2 separate regions of the Homo sapiens genome follow, and region 1 is linked to region 2. Evidence: promoter capture Hi-C in 16 types of primary human blood cells and fetal thymus (Javierre and others, 2016). All regions are on one chromosome and are shown on one strand. The core of a region is centred on a gene start or on the middle of the fragment in contact, and the rest is flanking DNA. Distances in the headings are between cores, read along the strand shown. Region 1 holds the start of VSIG1 (V-set and immunoglobulin domain containing 1). Region 2 holds the start of PSMD10 (proteasome 26S subunit, non-ATPase 10).

Region 1 (6,796 bases), core at 4,230-6,729, 46 kb after region 2:
TATACAGTCACTGTCTTATCTTATTAACTGGTTGCTATGCATTGCATTGTCGAAGACTATAAAAGTTCTCCAGGATGGGTCACGGGATTGGCAGGCAAGCACTGGAAGAGAAAGTCAAGTTCAAGAGACGCTCTCTATGCTGTCCTAGTTGCCTGCAGGGTAACAGAGGGTGTTGGAGGGTTGAGGGTGAAGGGATGAGGATACAGAAATTATGAAAGATTCAGAGGAAATTGCATAGAGGGACTAATTCCTGTCCATCTTCCCAATTTTGCATACCCAAAGACTTATTTATTTCATATTTTTCTTACTTAATGACAGCAGTCAGACAAAAAGAACTTAAAGGATTGACAAACACTTTTAAAAAGTAAAAGAAAAAAAATCGTTGTACTGATTACTCTTGGTTTCATGGATTCAATATCTGTGTTCTCTGTCACAGCCAGGTCACCTGGTCCAGCTGCTTTCCTGCCAGAAGCTGGCTGTTTACATGGCAACCAATGCACTGATAAATTAAGAAAAGTGCCTGAATGCAAACAAAAATGCAGCACTTTTTAACTCCATACAGTTTCCCTCTTCCCAATATTCTCCTCCCCATGCTTTCCTGGTTTCCATAATGCCTCCTCCAAAAAGGAAATTGGCTTTCAGAAAGCAGCTAATCTTTCCAACAAAAACTTCACTGGAGAAAGATGGTTCCCTCCCACCCTCAAAGAGCCCATTTCATTTCTCCTGGAAGTTAGCCACATCTCTGGCCGTGCTTAAATGATGACTTCCAAATGTCTTTAAAGTGTCCAAAATAAAAAGGATAAAACTGGGGTTTTGGTAGCCCTTAAAGTTCCCAGACTTATTCCCTAAAAACAGAGATTTTAGAGATATTATTTGGCCATAATTTTTGTTCTCTAGTTTGGGACCCAGTATCTGTTACGAGATTGGTTAAGGGTGAGAATTTATGAACAGATAAGGCAAAACAATAAACAAAACCCCACAAACCCCCTTTGAAGACCACTCTTGGAAAAAGTGTTTGATGGCAGAGTACACACAGTACTCACACAAGTCAAGCCATGGAAGAGGCTGTGGAGCCTAGCAACAAATATCAATTGAGCACCCATTTTGTGCCACAAACAGTGCTGAACACTGGGGAAACAAGAATGAACATGACAGACACAATCTCTGCCATCCCTCAGTGCAGCAGGAAGCCATTTATAGCACAGATGAGAATAGAGGTGAATGAAAATCAAGGATTTGGAAAATATAAATCTGATTCAAACATTTCTAACATTTTAAATATAGAAGATATATAAATGTGTAACTAATTAGAAATCTGCAAAAGTTTAATAATATCACCTTGGAATTAGGATGGTAATTTCAAATTTTAAAGTGAGACAATATTTTTTGAGGTACTACACATTGTCATGTAAATAAGTAACAGTTGGCAAAGCAAAACCTCCAGGCCATTTTATTGCCCAGATTCCCAATTCTTAGCACCATAACCAATTAAATTCTGAAGAAAAGATGTTTTTCAGACATTGTCCAACCATGATATAGTGATGATATGCTTCAGAGCTAAAAGTTATATATTTCCAGATGAGCCTTTTTAAAATGTCACATCATTCAATTAGTGCACATTACTTAAAACCTCTGAGCTCACCCTTACAGTGCTGTCCAACAGAACTTCCTGTGATGATGGAAATGTTCTATCTCTGCGCCATCCAGTTCAGTAGCCCAAATAGAATTATCAAACACTTGAAATGTGGCTAGTGAAACTGAGGAACTGACTTTATAATTTTCATTAATCTGAAGTGATTTAAATTTCAATAGCCACATGTAGACAATGGGCAGTGCAAACTTAGTCCTAAAGTGGAGGTGATTCTCTGAGTGTCAGGGAAAAAAGTTCCCTTCCTTTGGATTAAGTCATTCTAAGTTGAGAAATTATTTAAAAATTGAATAAGTCAGAAAAATCTCTACATCAATAGGACTGTGAATAAATAGCAAAGTAAAGATTAGTATCTGATTTAAACAAAACCCAAGAACGCAATGTCCCTCTCTGACTTGACCAAATTTAAAAACAAAACAAAAATGCATATGTGGTTGAAATATGTGTAATCTCTTTTAAAAACCAGTGCTTACCTGCACGTTGTGCACATGTATCCTAAAACTTAAAGTATAATAATAATTAAAAAAGTGCTTATTATTAAAGAAAAATAATCCAAGATGTACACACTTAATCAACATTTAAAAATATTTTTAGGCTGGGCGCAGTGGCTCACGCCTGTAATCCCAACACTTTGGGAGGCTGAGGTGGGCGGGTCGCCTGAGGTTGGGAGTTCAAGACCAGCCTGACCAACATGGAGAAACCCTGTCTCTACCAAAAATACAAAATTAGCCGGGCGTGGTGGTGCATGCCTGTAATCCCAGCTACTCAGGAGGCTGAGGCAGTAGAATCACTTGAACCCGGAAGGCGGAAGTTGCGGTGGGCCGAGATCGTGCCATTGCACTCCAGCCTGGGCAACAAGACTTAACTTCGTCTCAAAAGAATATATATATGTGTATATATATATATATATATATATATATATATATATATATATGTGTGTGTATATATATATATATATGTGTATATATATATATGTGTATATATATATGTGTATATATATATATGTGTGTATATATATATATGTGTATATATATATGTGTATATATATATGTATATATATATGTGTATATATATGTATATATATATGTATATATATATATATATAGAGAGAGAGAGAGAGAGAGAGAGAGAATGTCTTGTATTTTGGTGGTGATTGTTCATTCATTTAATGCCTACAAGGTGGCAAACATTTTGCTTATAGAAGGATTATTATCCTCCTAATGTACCACAGCAAAATATCCCCCAAATATTCATATTTAATCTGATAGATTTGAAGTGATTTAATTTCCAGCAACTTCATATATAATAGATTCATTTTGACTTAGGAAATAATATAATCAAATGATCACTCACTTTTTTGGATTTGAGTGCAAACTCAAAGTTCAAATATATTACTCCTTTAAAATGCATAGCATATACCTCCAGAAAATGAAACCCACATTAACATATCTTTCTAAGAGGTGACTAATACATATTTCAAATACCTAAAATGATATGCATAAATTTTTTGCAGAAGTTTGATTAAAACTCGTTTTCCTGAATTAGAATTTAACCTAAGAATTCCTAAGAAGTCATTGAAAATATTTTGATTTAAGCAAAATCTGACCTGTTTAGTTATATCAAAATCAATTTTAAATATGTATGTGAAAATGATGTCTGGATGTTTGGAATTTGGGAAAGTAATTCATTCTTTCAACAAACATTTACTATGCATCCACTATGTGTTAGGCACCACGCTTAACACCAAAAAGTGACATTCTCTCCAAAACAAGTCCAGGAAGAACATCAAATTGCACATTGATGGAAACACTATCAGTTGTCCAGATCAACTGATGAACACTGCTAATGACAGGTGTAGATTACTAAAGTGATCCTTTCTCTGACTTCAATACATATGTAAGCACAGCAAACGACAATAGAGCATACCACAATTTGCTGTACTGACACTACTGCTTTGGGCCAACTAGATAATATGTGTGTAGATATATAGTGTACACTATATACCAACAAAATCAGTTATATAGTAACTTAGGAAACACACTCTGAAGTATTTATTGGTCTTGTTCTAAAAGTCACAATAAAATAAAATCCTGACATGATGCTAAACAATTTTTTTAAACAATAAAAAAGTATACAAGGAATAAACCCAATTTTTAAAATGTAATATATACACCTGCAAATAAAAGAATAATAATTCACCCAAATCTGAGTGGTAAAATTGCAGATGATTTTTATTTTATTTTAAATTTCCATATTTCCAACCTTTCTACAATGACCATGCATTACATTTATAATCAGTAAAAATTACTTGTATGTTAGGTACAGTTAAAAAAAAAAAAAACTGTTCTTAACAACCGTTCCAAACCCTGTGCCTAGTATGGGCCAGGGCAAGGCTTCACATAGGGAAACAGGTATGATCTTAGAGGGCTGATGCAGAAGGCCCAGGGGTCGACCCAACTGGCTAATGACTGGAAACCCTTTAAGAAGAGACAAAACTTCCATATCTAAAGTTACATTTAAATGAATATGCCTGGGGAGAAGGGAAAATAGGAACATGTGTTTCCAGCTCTAGGGCCTAGTTAGGTCACTGGACAAATGGAGTATTGCCTTCTGGTGATGTTTAACTCCATAAAACATCTATGCTTAAACATTTAGTAATGAACATTTAAAGAACTATTTCTAAACATGAGATCACTTTGAAAAGTAACACTTTTTTCTAATTATAAAAATAGCATAATGTTCTTCGTAGAAAACCCAGGAAGTATGAAAAGCTGGGAAATAAAATTAAAATCATCTATAATCCCATCACCCAGAGGCAACCACCATGAGCACTTCGGTATATAACCTTCTAGTAATTTATTCTAGGCATATGTGTGCATCCTGCTTTTTCACTTAATATTTTATCGTGGGTATTTTCTTATGTCATTAATACGCCTAGTAAACCTCATTCTAACCACTGCCTAATATTACTAATGGCTTGAAAATCCTGTTTTTGGATAAACAATATTATTGTATTTACTATGGACCTAACTTATAAGAACAGATGCAAAATGTATCTGATATTTGAAAACTACCCAAGGGATTTTTGGAATTAATGATCTCTCCTGGATCTAACTAACATCAGTATTTTGATTCCAAAATTGATTTTCTTCTGTTCAGATACCTAAAATCACCCATGTTGTGCACCATAAATCACTCACATATTTTGCAAAATACAGTCTTAGGATTGGAAAACCACAACTCCTTAAGAAATATTAGACAGTAAAGTACTCAGTAAATTTCTGTTCTTCCCATATGTAAGCCAGGGCAGGCCCTCCAACCCAGGCTCTGCCTGCTAGAGCAAGTCAATCACTGAGCTTAAAGGAAACACTAAAGTAAGTAAAACAGAGACAAAATTATCCCTAGCACAAAGTTTGGTTTCTGAGTAAATTCATTTTTTTCACTTTTCAAAGTAAGTAAAGTAATAAACTATATTTTTTTCTGAGAAAATTTTCATTCAGAAGCTCCATAAAACAATAATATTATGGGCTTACACCCCTAATATATCAGCATGGCATATGTTTGCTAAGCAAGAGTTCTGAAAATTAACTCATCATACTAATCACAATTCATTTGAAGTACAGGAGATGAAAATTCTATGTAAAAATGTGGAATTTTTATTTAAAAGGAAACTCTGTTTCCAATTATATTTGGTGGTTTGGAGATCCTTTCCTTACCTGCAAGGCAGCTTAGGATCAGAAAGACCTTCCAAAATGCGAACACCATTGTGTGGAGGTTAGTTGAGAGCAGCAGGTGCCAGTAGCTTGCCTGGACTAGGCTGAGTCTCAAATTGGCTTCTTCGATCACACCGAGGTTTGCCTGGCTTATCTGCTGGGCATCGCCAAGCAAACATGCCTCTTTGGGCTTACTTATTGCGTATAGACTTTTTTCAGTACAGATTTGTGTTTCTTTGAAACACTTTTCATGGGGCGTGTTTCCTTGATATATTTGCTACTGTGTTAATAATAAACCCACGCATTTAAATTATTCAAGCTCCTTGTACACAGATTCTCTAAGTCTCATTGTTTAAAATCAATCTTACTAAAACGTTGTACTTGGGCTGGGGGATATGGTTGGAAGAGAGCCTATGCAAATAAAAGCTGACAAGGCTAATTAATTTCAAATATTTCCATGAGTCTTACAGAATTGATTCACTAACCTCCTTTTACAAATTAAGTTAGTAAATTGGTACTATATCGTTTCCTGGGGAGATGGGGCTCACGGGAAGGGCACAGGGGTTATGAAGCTAAAAAGCATTCATTTCTGTGTGAACAAACTCTGGATATGTTACTCTTTTTTGAAACACTGGCAGTTGTCACTACCCTCCACCAAAACTAGCAGTAAAATGATTTACATGCTTTTGTCTGTCGGGTTAGAAACCTTATAGCACGTATTTGCTAACGTAATTTTGCAAAATCAAGTTAGTGAATACATGCTTAAAGACTTTCTTTGGAGAAGTCTGATTTTTTGGAGAATTAAGATACTCAGTAAATGCTATAGGGTTTCCTTAGAAATGGAGGTTCACCAGGAGGGCATGGGAGGCTCCACAGGTAAGGAACTTTCATGGGAACATGAACTTCTAATAGTGTTCCTATTATGCTTAAGTTACCCGGAGAAACCTAAGGACTTTCTCTGGCTCTTCCCATGTGATTTCTAAGTCCTATCATTTCCATCTCCACAGCGACTTTCAGATGTGTTCTTTCTCCAATCTGCTGCTTCCATCTTGGTCCAGGTACTCAGCTTCCCACTTTGGCCTATCATAGCAGCTTCCTAAGTGGTCTCCCTGACTTATTCCACCTTCATCCTGTGTGCCAGCCGCAGGCCAATGTTCCAGCCCTAGTGAAATATTTCCAGTAACACCATAAATGGACTCTTTCATCAAATCCAAAGTCCTTAATATGGATTCCCATTCTTCCAATATCTGATCCTCACCTCATCTGAACTTTAGCCACATTAACTCATGCCCCTGAAAAAGTATGTCAAGATTTATTGCCTCAAAGTGTTCAGTCACATGAAATGTGTACAAATTTCAAGTGATATGTTTTATGTTCCTGTCTTTAATTTACAGGAAATGTTTGACCCCATCTTACTTTAGCCATTCCAATCTCC
Region 2 (6,437 bases), core at 1,993-4,492:
TCAATTGGAAGTGATTAACCTGCCACATAATGCTAAAAGGCACTATTAAGAGAAGAACAGAATTCTATTCCACGCAATGAATATGCTCAATTAAAATCATGTTTGAGGATAGTGTATGATAAGAATGTGGTACTTGACCTCTGCAGACTTTCTTCCAAACACATAATGCCAGTCTAAGCATAAAATTGAGGGGTTTTCTACAAAATACCTGACCAGTACTCCTTAAAACTATCAAGGTCACCAAAACAAGAAAAGTGTGAGAAAGTGTCACAAACCAGAAGAGGCTAAGGAGATACAATGACTAAACGTAATGTGGTATCCTGGATGGGACAGCATCTCTAGAGATAAACTAGTGAAACTTGAAAAAAAAAAGCATGGGGTATAGTTAATAGCAATATACCACTGTGGGCTTATTAGTTGTGACATAGATAGCATAGCAATGTAAGACGTTAATGATAAGAGATTCAGCAAATGGTGCTAGGACAATTTCTACATCCACATGCAAAAAGATGAATTTAGACTCTCACCTCACATCACAGAGAAAAAATGAACTCAAAATGAATCATAGACTTAAATGTAAGAGATGAAGTAATAAAGCTTTTAGAAGAAAACATTGGAGAAAATCACTGAGACCTTGCAATTAGGCAAAGACTTCTTAAGTACAACACCAAAAGAATGGTCCATGAAAGAAAAAAAAATGATAAATTGAACCTCACCCAAATTCAAAACGTTTTCACTTCAAAAGACACCATCAAAAAAAGAAAAAGGCAAGCAACAGACTGGGAGAATATATGTGCATATCATATATCTCTCAGGGACTTGATCTAGAATATATAAACCATCCTTACAACTCAACACTAAAAAAACAAATAACTCAATTTAAAAACAGACAAAAGATATAACAGACACTTCACTGAAGAAGATATATGAATGGCTAATAAGCACATGAAAATATGCTCACCGTATTATAAATTATAATTTATAAATTAAAACCACAATGAGACACCACTTCACACCCACTTAGAATGGCTATAACAAAAAACACAGTAAATAACAAATGTTGGCAAGGATGTGGAGAAACAGGAACTCTCATACATTGCTAGTGGAAGTGCAAAATGTTGCTGCCATTTTGGAAAACAGTTTTGCAGTTTCTTAAGAAGTTAAGCATAAATTTTCCCTGTGATCCAGTAACTCCACCCTTAAGTATCTATCAAAGAGAAATGAAAAAAATATGTCCGCACGAAGACTTACATACTAATCTTCTTAGCAGCACTAGTCATAGTAGCCAAAAATTGGAAACTGATGTGCCTATCTAATAGTGAGTAGACAGATAAAAATGTGTTATATCCATAAAATGGAATACTATTCAGCAATAAAAAAGTAAGGAAGTACTGATACATACTACAATATGGATGAATCTCAAAAATATTATGCTAAGTGAAAGAAATCAGACACAAAGACTGCATATTGTATGATTTCATTTATATAAAATGTCCAGAATAGGCAAATTTATAGAAACAAAAAAGTAGATTAGTGGTTGTCTGGGGCTGGGAATGGGACAGAGGATTGATTAACTATAAATAGGCATGAGGGACCTTACTGGAGGGATCAAAAAGTTCTAAAACTGATTTATGGTGATGGTTGCCCCACTTCAGTAAAGTTACCAAAAATCATTTAATTATGCACTTGAAATCAGTGAATTTTATGATATGTAAAATGTGCCTCATTTTGAGTGAGTGTTATACAGGAACTCTACTAACCTTGCAACTTTTCTATAAATCTACAACTATTCTGAAATTTTTGAAAAATTAAATAAAAATAAAAATAAAAAAGTATATGTTTATGAATTGATATCAGTATTTGGCAGTACCTATCTATGTAAAATGACATTTTCAAAGATTAAATAGGTAAAAATTTCCTAACAGATCAGCATTAACAGATGAACACTTAAAATCAATTTTGACAATAGGGAACACTAATTCTGAGCCCCAATTAAGCAAAATATTATCCCCTAAAAAGAATTCTATTCTTCTCATTGGTAGTCTTCCTGTATTACAAAAAAAGTACTCAATTACTATTATATTTTGAATTTCATCAATAAAAATTTGTTGAAATTTGTTTTCTCTTTTGTCATAAAAGTACCAACAAAATATTCTTGATTTTGCCTTTTGGCCTACAAAGCCTAAAATATTTACTATCTGGCTCTTTACAGAAAGTTTCCCAACTCCTGTTCTACACTATAACAGGATAAACATAAACATCATGAGTCTCTTTCTTGAATGTATTCTTATCGTTACCTAGTTGTGGCATAATGTCCTCTGGATATGCCCTATAAAGGATCAGTCTTGCATTGCTTCTGCTATGGCACTATTTGGGATTTCTATAAAAAGAAACACTATTAGCTTAATAGTTGTAGCAAAGCCTTGACAACATAGTTAATATCGTGATATTAAAATGCCAACACCACAGCCCGGTATCCTTAAGATGACCCTCATCAAGCTGTGATGTCACCAGGCTATGGACTCACCGAGGTCTCTTAGATATCAGGTGGCTCCCACGGCATCACACCCTGCCTTTGGCATCACCCTGGCACATCACCTCAGTACGGTGCCATATGCTATCACTGCTGTGGTAGAACCCTGTCCTGATGCCACACCGCCGAGATGTCAGAGTAATTAACCCCCACTTCTTTCCACTCCCTAGGCGGTGGCAGGGAGGGGGAGGGTAGCCACAGTCACCGGTTCGAGCTCAGTAGGTAGTACTCAGCTCCAACCCTTGTCCCTTCCGCCTGCCACTGCAGGTCAGGAACCCCGGGGGACAGGACCTTTAGGCTCTCATAACTCTTGCCCTGCCCCCGAACCTGTTTCATATGGCCGACTCAACGACCCGCCAGCGACTACCCACCCCGGCTCTTTCACACGGTTCCACTCAAAGCCGCTCCCCGTACCTGACTCCATTCTCCAGCTGTCATCCTGGGCCAATTCCACCGGCAACTTGACTACGGACGGACGGTCGCTAGGATCCCTGGGACTTGTAGTTCTGCACTGCTAGGGGCCAAGTCTGTGAGGGCAGCAAAGGCGCCTCCCTGCCCGGAACTGCTCTCAAACTGCAACTCCCAGAGGCGCCGCGCGACGGGAAAAGAAAAGGGAACGAGGAAGGCCGGTGATTGGTGAAGCTCTAACGGCTGTTTTGACTGGCGTAGCCGGAGCCGGCGACGTGAGGCGGGCGTTGCTCGCGCGACAAGTAGTTGCTGGGACAGCGAAATGGAGGGGTGTGTGTCTAACCTAATGGTCTGCAACCTGGCCTACAGCGGGAAGCTGGAAGAGTTGAAGGAGAGTATTCTGGCCGATAAATCCCTGGCTACTAGAACTGACCAGGTAAAGCAACGCTAGGTCTCTCCGCAGTCGGCGACGTCGGCGAAGCCCTACGTGGCTTTCGGGGCCCGGCCCTAGCGGAGGCCCCGTTTCTGAGAGAAGCAGAACCCCGCCCCCGCCGCCCCAAGCAGTCCCCCTGGGTCACCTCGGGACTCGCGATAGGCCTGCGGGAGCTAGCCCCACAGACCTCAGATATTTTCCCGTTGGCCCGGAGCTCCGCTCCCTGATTTTTGGATAGTTCTAGAACGTCTACCGCATTTCTCAGAAACTCCCAATCAGTGAAAAGGAAGGCTTTTTATATGGATTTATTTACCTTTACTAGTAACTGTATTCAGTAACGCATGTGAAATTGAACGCCCCTTCCGTGCCAGGCAGTTTGCTAGGAGCTGGGGATACGGTGGAGTGGAAGATGCAGACAATAAAATAAGCACAAAAACATGTCCGATTACAAATTGTGGTAAATACTCGGCAGAGAAGTTTACATGGTGCTTTCAGAACACGTTAATAGGAGGATCTGATGCTGAATATGACTGTCGTTAATTGGAAAAGTTTTTGCAAAGAAGGGAAGGTTAGTTAGACTTTGAAGCATGAGTGGGATTTCCATGGGGGAATGAGTGGACATTCTAAGCAGAGGTAGACAGAAGTTTAGAAGTGTTTCTTTCTGCCCTCCTGCTCACAGGACTCTCGTGCTTTCATCCTCAGTTTCTAGGATTCATGGTGCCTTTAGTAAGCCCACAAATATTTATAGATGGCCTTGTGTTTCGCAGACAGTGTCGTAAGCACTAGTGAGACTGTCCCATACTTACAGATCTCCATTTTGTGTCTTTTGGGAGAGAATTAGAAATCAAGAGACTGTTTTCTCTTTTCTGGAACTTTCCTTTATTACTCAACCTGAAAATGGCCTTATCTTTACCTGGTTTACTTCATTATGGTCTGGTGATATTTAAGGATTTAAATTTAAATGTAATACTTTATATTAAGATTTAATACTCCATTGGAAATTTAACCATTCTTCAGTCAAGTCAGTGGCTTAAAAAGGGAAAGGAACTATTCAGCATCAAGAGACGTAAAAAACATGAAGAAATGCAATTTATGGATCTCGTCTGGTTCCTGATTTAAACAAACCAACTGCAAAAAGACATTTGGGAGACAGTTGGGGGCAATCTGAATACAGACCGGATATTAGACATTCTAAAGGAGTTAGTGTTAATTTTAGTAAGTGTAATAATGGTCTCATAGTTATATAAGAAATACCTTTATTTTTTACATACTGAAAGAGAAGGGTGAAAAGTCATGATATTTAGGATTTGTTTTTGGAAAGCTCAGCAAGGAAAAAACTAGTTAAAGCAAATAGGGCAAGATGTTTGTTGTTAAATCTAAGCAGTAGGCCTGTGGGTTTCTATTCTATTCCCTCTATTTTTGTGTTTGAAATTTTTTTGTAATAGAGTTTAAAATACCATTTTCTATTCTGTGGGGCTAAGAAGTATAGCAGTCACTGCAAATAGGGATTCCCTTTGACAAATAATGACTACTATAGCTTTTTTAATTTTTATTTATTTTTATTTATTTATTTTTTGAAACAGAGTTTCGCTCTTGTTGCCCAGGCTGGAGTGCAGTGGTGCCGTATCACCTCACTGCAACCTCTGCCTCCCGGGTTCAAGCGATTCCCCTGCCTCAGCCTCCCAAGTAGCTGGGATTACAGGCGCCTGCCACCACGCCTGGCTAACTTTTGTATTTTTAGTAGAGACGGAGTTTCACCATGTTGCCAGGCTGGTCTAGAACTCCTGACCTCGGGTGATCTGCCCACCTCAGCCTCCCAAAGTGCTGGGATTATAGGCGTGAACCACCGCACCCGGCCATAGCTTATTATTTTTTATAAAAAGTAATTTTCTTGTTTTCTGTGTGTTGTGTTTTCTAAATTATATTTCTAATTTATTTATGATTTTAAATTCTAGATAATTTCAACTAGTTTAATGAACATTTCTTCCCCCATTAGATTCATGTGTTCCTTCTACAGCATCTAACTTGAGGTCAGTGTGGTAGTAGAGATTTCAGAGTCAGAACTTCACTGACAGTTGTGCCCCAACTTCACCATTTAGTATCCATATGACCGTCCACAAGTTGCTTACCCTGAGGAGTTTTAGTTTCCTCATCTGAAAAATGGAGATAATAAGCACTGTGTAGAATGGTAGGAATTAAATGATACTATACATGTAAAACTCCCAGCACAGTGCCTGACATAAAAGTACGTAAATAATGTAATAGTAAAACAACCAAAGATGTATTTCTGTCAAAGCATTGAAATCAGTTTCTTGCTCTACTACTTTCCTTGTCGTATTCTGCCCAGAATTACGTATGTTCATCAATGTCATTCTCCCCATGTTACTTAAACCTTCATCTGTCTTATACCAGTAAGTAATATAGTTTAAGGTTACCTACCTGAGGATCCAGTGCTCTGCATTTCGTATTTTCAAACTATAGATTTGCCAGCACCAGTATTTTTTTTCTTGCTTTTTTGCCTTCTATTTCAAGAATGTTTCTATTACTGCTTCTCTGTAGGACAGCAGAACTGCATTGCACTGGGCATGCTCAGCTGGACATACAGAAATTGTTGAATTTTTGTTGCAACTTGGAGTGCCAGTGAATGATAAAGACGATGTGAGTACTTTGATAAAGTTGAGTTGATAAATTCCCAGTTATCTTTGTACTCCAGACTGGTGTTTACTGAAGCCTGTGCATTAAGCTTATAAAGAAAATTGTAACCTTTATGACTGGAAAGTTACATCATGGCCCTTGTGATCAAGCATGAGACTCATGGTTGCATTATTTTACAATGTTATGTTTGCCACTCATACTCTGTGATTTAAGGTAAACATACAGGAGAGGCTGAGGTAGGAGGATTGCTCCAGCCTAGTAGTTTGAGGCTGCAGTGAGCCATTGTACTCTATCCTGGGTGACAGACTGAGACCTTGTCTCTAAAAATAAAAAAACAAAAATAAACATACAGATCAGGGCTTGTTATGGTGAACCCTAAAAGACCATAAACTCTTTCTATTATGTTGG

Evidence for each region. The method cuts DNA at HindIII sites, captures the fragments that hold promoters and counts their contacts. A CHiCAGO score of 5 or more calls a contact.
Region 1: the fragment with the promoter of VSIG1 here is called in contact with the fragment with the promoter of PSMD10 in region 2 in 4 of 17 cell types (neutrophils, activated CD4 T cells, total CD4 T cells and 1 more); the score reaches 9.8 in neutrophils.

Annotation. Positions count from the first base shown.
Region 1 is chrX:108,043,748-108,050,543 of GRCh38, reverse strand. It overlaps VSIG1 (V-set and immunoglobulin domain containing 1), which reads right to left and starts at 5,479. Exons shown (of 7, transcript NM_182607.5): 1 at 5,365-5,479. The coding sequence starts at 5,413. The HindIII fragment of the contact is 8,448 bases long and covers 1-6,796 here.
Region 2 is chrX:108,088,347-108,094,783 of GRCh38, reverse strand. It overlaps PSMD10 (proteasome 26S subunit, non-ATPase 10), which reads left to right and starts at 3,242. Exons shown (of 5, transcript NM_002814.4): 1 at 3,242-3,377; 2 at 5,934-6,032. The coding sequence starts at 3,264. It overlaps ATG4A (autophagy related 4A cysteine peptidase), which reads right to left and starts at 3,006. Exons shown (of 13, transcript NM_052936.5): 1 at 2,948-3,006. The coding sequence starts at 2,957. RefSeq lists enhancers at 2,804-3,043, 3,094-3,493. The HindIII fragment of the contact is 5,520 bases long and covers 600-6,119 here.